Regions from separate parts of the Homo sapiens genome. Here all the other regions are linked to region 4. Evidence: promoter capture Hi-C in human tissues and cell types (Jung and others, 2019). All regions are on one chromosome and are shown on one strand. Each heading gives the region's core, a stretch centred on a gene start or on the middle of the fragment in contact. The rest is flanking DNA. Distances are from core to core; before and after follow the strand shown.

Region 1 (2,700 bases), core at 76-2,575, 380 kb after region 4:
TGTTTTCCCCTTCCCCAGTTTGAGAGTTAGTGAGCACCTTATTAGAAAAAGCAAATTTCTACCTTTCAGGTCCTTCCTAGCTTTTGACTTAGAAGCAGCAGGTTTTAGGAAATTATTTCAGTCTTTTACTGTTTCTTTAGCATATCTAATAACATAGATTATAGAATTGCTAAGTTTGTTGAGTATTTTAGTGAACTCTGACATAGAAAAATAACACATTTAAATGTACAGAACAAGTAAAAGCAATATCTAGATTGTAAAATTTCAGATTTCATCCTGAATTGGATTGTTCGCTCAGAAAAAGTTAGTTTCAAAGTGAGTTACTAATCCTGGTAAGCTAAGATCGAAACACCTTCAGAGGTTTTAGAAAATGGAGACTAATTTTAGGTTTTTTTTTTTTTTTGAATGAGACTATTTTAAAATAAATGCTGTTATAACAGATACTTGAGTGGCATTGCTAAACAGTGAATGGCATATGTTTAATCATTTAAAACATTTAACTAAATTCCAGTCTCATTTGAATTTCCAAGCAAAACAACACAAATTAACTATATCCAGATGTGTGTGGTAATCGAGCTGAAATCTAAAGAAGAAGCAAGTTTGAAAGCATGCTTTTTTGGGGTGGGGAGCTAAGAAAAGATAGCTCCATCTCCCAGGCTTACTTGCTAATCTTGATTTCAAGCATTTGGCTTTGCTATTTAAGAGGCAAACGTGGTGGAATGGAAAGAACATCGCACACTTTAAATTCAGAAAGATCTGGCTTCAGAATCCCAGATTTGCTTATCACTGGCTGTGTGATCTGGGCACGTTCCTTATCTTTGAGCTTTATTCTCCTTTTGTAAAATGGGACTACTACTACTTGCCATGCCTGAAGAGCAAACAAAACTGATGTGACTGTGCTGTGAAAGTTCTTAAGTACCGTGTGCATCTGTTGTAGTTTGTTCAGTGCTGTGTTTGCCAAGAGTACACTTCTGGATAAGTGGGGTCTAGCCCCATGCTGAAACGCTCAGAGGACTTCATTATTAAGATGATTGTACCTCTAAGACGGTCCTAAGGAAGCCCTCCTAAGGACGTTAGGCAGGAGAGACATGGTGTATTTGTTTGTGATGATTGATTGCTGTTGTTCTTTGGGTCTGTTGACTCATGCATGGATTGACCTTTAGGCCCTTGTATACAAATGTAAGGAATAAGCTGCCTGCTGCTGCTGTTACACGGAGACTGTGACAGCTAGCAAAGTCTTGGTCTTTTGCTTGTTTTTTCCATCCCCTCACAATGTTGGATTTTCTTCAATTTTTTATACCTTAAAAAATTGCTATTAATGCCTGCACTTTGAAGAAAAATTTAAAAATACAAGTAAAAAGAAAATAGCACCACCCAGAAATAAGCTTAATATTTTGATTTATATGCTTCCAGGTTTGTATAATATATAGTGCATAAGCATGTCTGTTAATTTTGCTTTAGAACATGTTTTTCCCCCACTAAATACTATAGCATGGATCTCTTCCCATTGCCAAAAAAATGTACTTCTACTTTGTCATGTTTAATGTCTGTGTGTATAGTATTTTATTGTTTATTTTCCCTGGCTCCTGATTGTTGAACCTTTACATTTACTTCCAGGTATTTTTTTTTTCCCCTTTAATCTAAACAATGATCTTTTAAGATACGTGACTTGGGTACTTGTCCATGTGTTTCTTTAGAATAAGTCCCTAAGAGATTTGCTGGTTTGGTGGGTATGTATAGCTGTATGATTTCCAATCGATGTTTCTACATTGCCCATTAGAAGAGTTCTATCCATTTCTGCTTCTCCAAGTGTGTCAAAGTACCCATTTGATCACACCTTTGTCAGCACTATTATTCTTTTTAATCTTTGCTAATTAAAAAGGCAAAAGGTAGTTATTTTACTTCAATTCATATTTCTTTGATTGCTAGTGAACTTGATCAGTGTTGCTTAATGTATATAGGCCTCTACCTTTTCTCTTTCGTAAACTACTGTCTTCTCTCTTGGAGTCTTGATGTAGTTATCTGTGAGCTCTTTTTAGTTATTAATGTTCTGCATGTTGCATGTATTTTTCGGAGTTTCAGGGCTTTTATTTTACATTCTTAAAGGAGCTAGTAATTTTGTTTATAAGCTAGTGGGCCTGCTATTATAAGATGTTTCATTGTAACAGACTGGCTGGAGGTGTGGTCCTTGTGGAACTGGTGCTTGGGACTCCTTCTCCTGGGGCGCAGCAGATGTGGGTGACAAGAGGGTCTGTGGGTGAGTCCGGCCCTGACAGAGCTGGGAAGCAGGCCAGGTGCTCTTTCCAGGACTCCACAGGGCATTGGTTGCAGGAGGAGCTTTGAATGAGGACCTAGCTGGAGCAGCTGTGGAGTGTCTGCAGTGGATGGGGGAGTGCCCTGCAGGTGAAAGGGAAAGAGACATTTGTCCTCCCTGCCTCCCTGTCTCTCCACAGCCCGGCTTCTTGGTGGGTTGGGGTGGCGGGTGTTGAACAGGGTGTGTAGGTGGGCTTGGGGGAGGGCAGTGGATGCAGGAGGTCAGTCTGAGGGGACTAGGTAGCCATCATAGTGTCCTCACTTACATTCACCTAAGTGCTGGTCACTGAATTGCACCTTGTTTTTCTGTTTTAAAGAGCTTTGTTCTGGAAGCAGTACTGGGTACTCAGTAACCGTGGGTGTGCTGAAAGGCAGGCTTGGGGAAGG
Region 2 (2,700 bases), core at 128-2,627, 470 kb before region 4:
GGAGAATCGCTTGAACCCCGGAAGCGGAGGTTGCAGTGAGCTGAGATTGCACTACTGAACTCCAGCCTGGGCGTGACAGAGTGATACTCCGTCTTGAAAAAAAAAAAAGTATTGGCAATAGAGTGAACTCCACCTGGTTATCAATCCTAACTCCATCACTCACCAGCTCTGTGACTTGTTTAGTTATTTAATCTTTTTCAGTTTCAATGTCCTCATCTGGAAAACGGGAAATGCCTACCGAGTATTGAACTGTCAAGACTAAATGACACATGAAAAGCACACTGAACAATGCTTAATCCACGGTAGGCTTTCAGCAAATAGTGGTCTCTATTATTTTTTGCAACAGGATGTTATATAAGAATAAGGCATTATCAAGACGATTTTCGCCTATCAAATGTGTTGTCTGCGTGTACATCAGACCTTTTCCTGGAATGAAGGTAGAAAAGTATCAACAATAAAGGATGGAGAAAGCCCCGTAAATGATAACCTTTGCCCCAGAGGGAAAGGATGGGCAGCGGAGGGGAAAGTAAAGGGTGGCAAGCTAGAAAAATTAGACATCCAGTGTGGGAGGGCTGGCACTGGAGTGGGTTGCCACAGTAGGGAGGGGACTCAGAGCTGGAGGCAATTCCTTTGGCCGGGCTTGTCCTGCGACTTACCGTGGGGCAGCGCAATGTGGAGAGGCCTGGTAAAATGGCTGGGCAAGGGTGCGGAGGGGACATAACTGGCAGGAAGGAGTCATGATTCGTGGTCGAACAGAGTCCAGACCAGCTCGACCTGTGAGCAACGAACGGCCCTGAGACTCGCATACCCCAATACCGGTAGTGGCCGTGAAGGGCAAAGAAATGTGTTCTGAGGCGATCCCAGCATCTAAGCTGCGACTGGTCTACTCAGAGACTGGATGGAAGCTGGGAAGAGAAAGCTGCTTCCCGCTTCGGGGTGAGGGATGGAGGAAGGGAGAACAAGCAGTAGAGAAGAAAAAGTTTCAGATCCCACAGCCCCGGGGGGTCACTCCTGCTGGACCTACTCCGACCCCCTAGGGCCGGGAGTGAAGGCGGGACTTGTGCGGTTACCAGCGGAAATGCCTCGGGGTCAGAAGTCGCAGGAGAGATAGACAGCTGCTGAACCAATGGGACCAGCGGATGGGGCGGATGTTATCTACCATTGGTGAACGTTAGAAACGAATAGCAGCCAATGAATCAGCTGGGGGGGGCGGAGCAGTGACGTTTATTGCGGAGGGGGCCGCTTCGAATCGGCGGCGGCCAGCTTGGTGGCCTGGGCCAATGAACGGCCTCCAACGAGCAGGGCCTTCACCAATCGGCGGCCTCCACGACGGGGCTGGGGGAGGGTATATAAGCCGAGTAGGCGACGGTGAGGTCGACGCCGGCCAAGACAGCACAGACAGATTGACCTATTGGGGTGTTTCGCGAGTGTGAGAGGGAAGCGCCGCGGCCTGTATTTCTAGACCTGCCCTTCGCCTGGTTCGTGGCGCCTTGTGACCCCGGGCCCCTGCCGCCTGCAAGTCGGAAATTGCGCTGTGCTCCTGTGCTACGGCCTGTGGCTGGACTGCCTGCTGCTGCCCAACTGGCTGGCAAGATGAAGCTCTCCCTGGTGGCCGCGATGCTGCTGCTGCTCAGCGCGGCGCGGGCCGAGGAGGAGGACAAGAAGGAGGACGTGGGCACGGTGGTCGGCATCGACCTGGGGACCACCTACTCCTGGTAAGTGGGGTTGCGGATGCAGGGGGACGGGGCGTGGCCGCCTGGCCTGGCGTGAGAAGTGCGGTGCTGATGTCCCTCTGTCGGGTTTTTCTGCCAGCGTCGGCGTGTTCAAGAACGGCCGCGTGGAGATCATCGCCAACGATCAGGGCAACCGCATCACGCCGTCCTATGTCGCCTTCACTCCTGAAGGGGAACGTCTGATTGGCGATGCCGCCAAGAACCAGCTCACCTCCAACCCCGAGAACACGGTCTTTGACGCCAAGCGGCTCATCGGCCGCACGTGGAATGACCCGTCTGTGCAGCAGGACATCAAGTTCTTGCCGTTCAAGGTTCGACCGGGTTTTTCTCATCCAGTTAGAGAACGGGTGGGTGGTGGGAGTATTTAGAGTTATAAGTCTCTGGAAAAGTGTTGAGACAACAGTTGAAGGTTATAGACATGATGTATGTAATAACTTTAATACTATTAGTATGTTACAAAACTTAAGACAGTTGCTGTCGTACTGTCTACGATAGTTTAGGAATAAAAGACCGATTAAAACTGAACTTTGTAAGACACCTATACTCCCTGAAGTATTTCTAGTCAATTTGCAGCCCCAAGGGACCAAAATAAACCAAATTGTGGGGATGGTAGTGGGTCTTTTAAACTTTGAGATGTCATTGTATCTGTGTCTGAAAACAATAATTCTTTAAAATAGGTGGTTGAAAAGAAAACTAAACCATACATTCAAGTTGATATTGGAGGTGGGCAAACAAAGACATTTGCTCCTGAAGAAATTTCTGCCATGGTTCTCACTAAAATGAAAGAAACCGCTGAGGCTTATTTGGGAAAGAAGGTAAATATTTCTAGAACAATGTTAAGTATTTTTTGATCATTAGTATTCTCGGTTGGCTGTTATGTATAGAAGCCTTCGTGAAGGGTTTCAAAAATTTTAATCAGAATGGTATTCATGCTTGTCAGGTTTAATTATTGAGTCCCTTACTATAA
Region 3 (2,700 bases), core at 1-2,500, 340 kb before region 4:
ATGCCTTAGCGTCTCTAGACACTCAGCTCCATCTTTTTAACTCAGGGCCTCTGCCTGAGTTCCTCTTCCCTGCGCTACATCCTAGAAATGCTCTCAAGGCAGTCAGCTGGGGTAGTTGTAGGCCCTCCCTTCTTTTGTCCTCAGAGATCACTGTCCTTGCTGCCTAATGTCCAATGTCTTGAAAACCACTATTTAGTCCAGGGATGTACAATCTTTGGCTTCCCTGGGCCACACTGGAAGAAGAACAGTTGTCTTGGGCCACATATAAAATACACTAACACTAATGATAGCTGATGGACTAAAAAAAAAAAAAAATTTTCACAAAAAAAGTCTCATAATGTTTTAAGGAAGTTTGCGAATTTGTGTTGGGCCACATTCAAAGCCATCCTGGGTTGCGTGTGGTTCATGGGCCATGGGTTGGACAAGCTTGATTTACTCTATTTCATCTGCTTTCTTCCTTTTTTTCCAGATAGGAGGGTAAATCTAGTCCCCGTTACTATACCTTGGATAGAAGTAGAAGTCTTTGAGGTCTTTTTAAAAAATTCTGAATGGATGTTTAATTTTATCAAATGCTTTTTCTGTATCTATTGAGAAGATCATATGATTTTTTTTCTTTCTCTTTTTTTCCTTCTAATGTGTTGAATTAATTTGATTGATTTTTTTTTTAAATGTTAAACCAACCTTAAATTTCTGGAACAAACCCAACTTAGTCACGATCCTTTTTTAACATATTGCTGAATTCAATTTACTCATATGTGTTTTAAGATTTTTACATCTATATTTTGTACATACACTGCCCTTCTTCAGGTTTGGACATCAAGATTTTCCTTATAAATGGTTATCCAAGGTTATAGTGGGTGGGAAATGTTCTCTCTTTTTCTCTAGAAAAGTTTGCATAATACTGGTGTTCTTTTTTAAAGAGAAGCGGTTTAATTGGTTCACGGTTCCACAGGCTGTTCAGGAAGCATGGCAGCATCTGCTTCTGGGGAGGCCTCAGGGCGCTTTTACTCATGGTGGAGGCAAAGCGGGAGCAGGCCTCTTAAATGGCAGGAGCAGAACCATATTAGTCCATTCTCATACTGCTATATAGAAATAACTGAGACTGGGTAAATTTGTAAAGAAATAGGCTTAATTGGCTCACAGTTCTACAGGCAGAACAGGAAGCACAGCAGCTTCTGCTTCTGTGGAGGCCTCATGGTGGAAGGTGAAGGAGAAGCAGGCAGGTCTTACATGGCTGGAGCAGGAGCAAGAGAGTGGGGAGGCAACCAGATCTCACGAGAACTCACTATTGCCAATTGAAATCATGAGGAACTACCCCCATGATCCAATTCCCTCCCACCAGACTCCACCTCCAACATTGGGGATTGCTGTTCAACATGAGATTTGGTCAGGGATACAGATGCAAACCATATCAGTCGTCCAGGCTGGTCTTGAACTCCTGGCCTCAAGTGATCCTCCCACCTCAGTCTCTTGAATAGCTGGGATTATAGGTGTGTGCCACCATCCCCAGCTAATTTTTAAAATTGTGTTTTAGAAACATAGTCTCACATTTGGACCACTGTTTAATTACAGATCTACTTCTCTAACAGATATAGGATTGTTTAGGTTTTCCATTTGCACTTGTTTCGGTTTTGGTCAGCTGTGTTTTTCTATGAAGACAAATGATCTGTTCAAGGTCATACATCTTATAATGAATAAACTTTCCAATCTTAAACTTTTTCAAATGGTGTCATACCAACATAATACGTATGTTTAAATTTGTAAACTCTTTTATCCTCTCTACTAGAATATCAACTAGTGGGTAGATTCTGTATTTACTAAAACTTCCTATCATCTGAGTCTTAAGGCCTATAAACAGATATTTGAATTAAATTAAAGCATGCTTGGGGCCAGACATGGTGGCTCATGCCTGTAATCCCAGCACTTTGGGAGGCCGAGGCGGGTGGGTCACTTGAGGTCAGGAGTTTGAGACCAGCCTGGCCATCATGGCGAAACCCCATCTCTACTAAAAAATACAAAAATTAGCTGGGCGTGGTGGTGCGTGCCTGTAATCTCACCTACTTGGGAGGCTGAGGCAAGAGAATTGCTTGAACCTGGAAGGTGGCGGTTGCAGTGAGCCGAGATCACATCACTGCCCTCCAGCCTGGGAGACAGAGTGAGACTGTGCCTCAAAAATAAATACATAGATAGATAGATAGATAGATAGATAGATAGATAGATAAATGGAAACCTTGATTTAAGTAGTTGCTTCAGTAGTTCATTTGGGCTTTGTCAGTCAATAACACATTTTACTTCTGTAGTAATGGGTTACTGATAAGGGAAAGATATGTTAGGGTATGTATTGAATAAAAAGGTGGGAATGGTGAATTGAAAGTATAGTTCTTTAAATTATTTACTCATTTTTTTAAAATTGTTTGGTGTTTTATTAAATACATGGCACTTTAATAACAAATGTAAGCTCCTCTTTCTCTGTTACCAGAGACCTGTCTTTTATTATTATTATTATTATTATTTTTTAAAATTGATAATTCTTGGGTGTTTCTCGCAGAGGGGGATTTGGCAGGGTCATAGGACAATAGTGGAGGGAAGGTCAGCAGATAAACAAGTGAACAAAGGTCTCTGGTTTTCCTAGGCAGAGGACCCTGCGGCCTTCCGCAGTGTTTGTGTCCCTGGGTACTTGAGATTAGGGAGTGGTGATGA
Region 4 (2,700 bases), core at 155-2,654:
GACTTCATCAGTGCTGGAAAGGGACAATATTGTTGCTATCTCATAGAGCAGGTATGAGGTTTAGACGGCAGAGCGTTAATGTAAGTCTCCCAGATTACGTATGAAATACAGTTTCACCAGGGTTGGTAAGGTCCAGTTGCCCCCAAGTGCAGAGAAGCGTTGCAACTTTCGTAGCAGGTGAGGGACGGGGTATGGTGCGAAATGTGGGCAAGGGTCAGGCCAAGCAGGGATGCGAATGCCAGGACGAGGACTTAAAATTAGGCAAAAAAAAAATAAAAGGGCTAAGGGATTGGTGGGGCGGGTGGGGCAGGAGAGGGCGAATGAGCGGCCACCGAGGAAGCTGCAGCATAATCCGGCAGAGCAGAAGTGGGCAAAGCACCAACGTTCTCGTTCTTTGTCTTCAAGTGGGCCAGGTAGGCCTTAGACCCTTGGCGGCAGCAGCGAAATCCTTTCCCGATGGGGTCGCCGAAGACGGACACCCCGGCGGGCCTAGTGACCGGTGGCCGCGCGCCACCTGGTGGCCGCAGCGGGTGGATTCGGCCGGGAGCCGCTGCAAAATTCGGGATTTTGCTTCCGGAAAGCTTCGGGAAACTGAGGTGGGAGGGGCAGGGGTTTGCGATCTTCCAACTTGATCCTGTCCTTATTCCAACCCCCTTTTACAGATAGGGAAACTGAGGAAAGGGGAAGGCAAACAAGGCTGGGCAAGGGATCCCTCTTAAACGGAAGGTTTCAAGACACCTGGGGTCAAGAGCCTAGGGCTTTCTTTAATAGCCCCAATGGCCCGGAGCTTAGTTTGCCCATCTGTTCTATGGGCAGGGGGAAAATGAAAGGGGAGGAGGGGAAACTTTAGTCTTTGCCGCCCACCCGGAGGTAAAAAGTCTTTAAAGACTACCCCGGAAAGAAGAGTTTTATATATTCCATTTGCATACGAACGCAGTCACCTCGAGTTAAACTCCGGTCCTTTAATCTCCGGTCCAATTTGTCCCGCAGCGGCAGGGAGAGGCCCACGTGAGTACCTTCAAGCCCCGCCTCCAGGGCCCCGCCCACAGGGCTGGGCTTCGTTGCACGTGCTCACCCGGCTGCCTCGCGATCCACCTCCTCGCAAAGACTCATTGTTGGGGTGGGGGGTTACGAGGACTCTTAGGGAACTTTGATCAGGTAGAAATCACAATCAAGACAAGGCCCGGAAGTATCCGCTTACTACATAGACATCAAACGCTTTGTCATGGTTCTTGATATTGACAGACTTTAGCTTTCCCTTCTCAGGACTTCTTATCCCTCCTTCCACCCCTTCAGTTGGTGCGGTCGGCGTGGCCGGCCTCGCTGAGCGGACTCCAACTTCCAGCGTGCCCCGCAGGGCCTTGCGCGGCAGCGGCGTGTGACGTCAGGGGAGGGAGCTGGCCAGTGCTGAGGGGGCGCGGCGCGGAGGGGCGCGGAGCGGCGCGGAGCCGGGCGGCTCGGGGCCCAGAGAGAGCCGCGGCCGGGAGCTCGCGGGCTCCTGACAACCTCCTCCCCTCGGCGGACGACGACCACGGCGACTAGGGCGCCGGTCATGGCGGAGCAACAAACCCGGCGCGGACCCTAGGCACCACCGCATGGAGCGGGACGAACCGCCGCCTAGCGGAGGGGGAGGCGGCGGGGGCTCGGCGGGGTTCCTGGAGCCTCCCGCCGCGCTCCCTCCGCCGCCGCGCAACGGTGGGTGAGGGGCCTGCGACGCCCGGGCCAGGCAGGAACCGGCTTCCTGAGCCTCCGCCAGGGATCCCCCTCCTCTCTGCCGACCCTCGCCCTGGGAAGCCGCAGCGGCCCCGCGGCCCCTTAGGGTGGCCCTTCACCCCGTTCCCCGTTGGCGCGGACCCTCCCTCTCCTCCCCGGTCTCGCTCAGGGTGGATCCTCCTCCTTCGTCCCTGTTCCCTTCTGCGCGGACCCTCCCCCTGCCCGGGTCCCTGGGCACCGAGCTTCATTTCCCCCTCCCCCCGTCCCCTCTGCACAGGCTTCCCCTCCCCCCGTCCCCTCAGCACCAATCCTCCCTCCTCCCCCCGGGTCCCCTCCCCCTGTCTTCCCAGCACCGAACCTTCCCCTCCCCCCGGGCTCCTCAGGTTGGAAGTCCCCACCGCGGTCCGTCAGTGGGGGCATCCCCTCACTCGGGTTCCCTTAACGCAGAGCCTCTCTTTTCCCCTACAGGGGTTCCTCCTCCCACCGAGGACGCTCCCTTCTTGCCCTGTTGACCCGACTCCACAGCACCCTTGTACCGCTCAGCTTTCTAGAGCGTTTTCCTCTTCTGCAGCCTCGAGCGTTCTTCCTTGAATACTACGAGCCCCCCACCTCTGCCGAACCCCCGTTCGCTAGACATCCCCCAGTCGTTTCCTTTTTCGGACCCCTTCGCGCCTCCTGCTTCCCCTGCGCCTCACCTTCCTCAACGCCCCGCGCGCTCTGGCCGGTCTCCGCCCCTGCTCAGCTCCCCTCTCCGCCAGGCAACGGCTTTCCCTGGCCGAGGGCTCCAGCCCGCCCCGGGGCCCCGGACACCTGCCTCCTCCCGGCTTCTGCCCGGCAGGTCCCGGTCCCCACCTCTTAGTCTCAGTTCTCCTCTTTCTTGTCCCGATCCGGGACCTTGGGAGCTGAGAATCCCTCACCTGGCCCGGCCCTTCCTACCGCTCGTCCCTCGCCCCCTCGCCCGGGCCGGGTCCTCAGGTTCCTCGGGGC

Evidence for each region. Contacts are between HindIII fragments. The study calls those that stand out against the background at their distance.
Region 1: a fragment that was not itself captured here is called in contact with the fragment with the promoter of NR6A1 in region 4 in 1 of the 25 tissues and cell types used here (IMR-90 fibroblasts).
Region 2: a contact is called between the fragment with the promoter of HSPA5 here and the fragment with the promoter of NR6A1 in region 4, in 1 of the 25 tissues and cell types used here (hippocampus).
Region 3: a contact is called between a fragment that was not itself captured here and the fragment with the promoter of NR6A1 in region 4, in 2 of the 25 tissues and cell types used here (dorsolateral prefrontal cortex and lymphoblastoid cells).

Annotation. Positions count from the first base shown.
Region 1 is chr9:124,389,349-124,392,048 of GRCh38, reverse strand. All of the region lies in intron 5 of PSMB7 (proteasome 20S subunit beta 7), which reads left to right. Among named protein-coding and RNA genes, the nearest start is that of PSMB7, 25 kb to the left of the region's middle. The HindIII fragment of the contact is 4,032 bases long and covers 1-2,700 here.
Region 2 is chr9:125,240,020-125,242,719 of GRCh38, reverse strand. HSPA5 (heat shock protein family A (Hsp70) member 5) reads left to right here and starts at 1,377. Exons shown (of 8, transcript NM_005347.5): 1 at 1,377-1,715; 2 at 1,813-2,044; 3 at 2,411-2,548. The coding sequence starts at 1,594. HSPA5-DT (HSPA5 divergent transcript) reads right to left here and starts at 1,064. Exons shown (of 3, transcript NR_186826.1): 1 at 657-1,064. RefSeq lists enhancers at 779-1,088, 738-1,242, 1,056-1,350, 1,243-1,747, 1,889-1,968. The HindIII fragment of the contact is 17,872 bases long and covers 1-2,700 here.
Region 3 is chr9:125,109,175-125,111,874 of GRCh38, reverse strand. All of the region lies in intron 2 of SCAI (suppressor of cancer cell invasion), which reads left to right. Among named protein-coding and RNA genes, the nearest start is that of SCAI, 33 kb to the left of the region's middle. The HindIII fragment of the contact is 3,457 bases long and covers 1-2,700 here.
Region 4 is chr9:124,770,015-124,772,714 of GRCh38, reverse strand. It overlaps NR6A1 (nuclear receptor subfamily 6 group A member 1), which reads left to right and starts at 1,404. Exons shown (of 10, transcript NM_033334.4): 1 at 1,404-1,695. The coding sequence starts at 1,596. LOC124900274 (a long non-coding RNA gene) reads left to right here and starts at 2,235. Exons shown (of 2, transcript XR_007061773.1): 1 at 2,235-2,700. LOC107987126 (a long non-coding RNA gene) reads right to left here and starts at 1,358. Exons shown (of 2, transcript XR_001746926.3): 1 at 942-1,358; 2 at 1-13. RefSeq lists enhancers at 1,005-1,264, 1,055-1,622 and silencers at 1,335-1,914, 2,455-2,700. The HindIII fragment of the contact is 6,332 bases long and covers 1-2,700 here.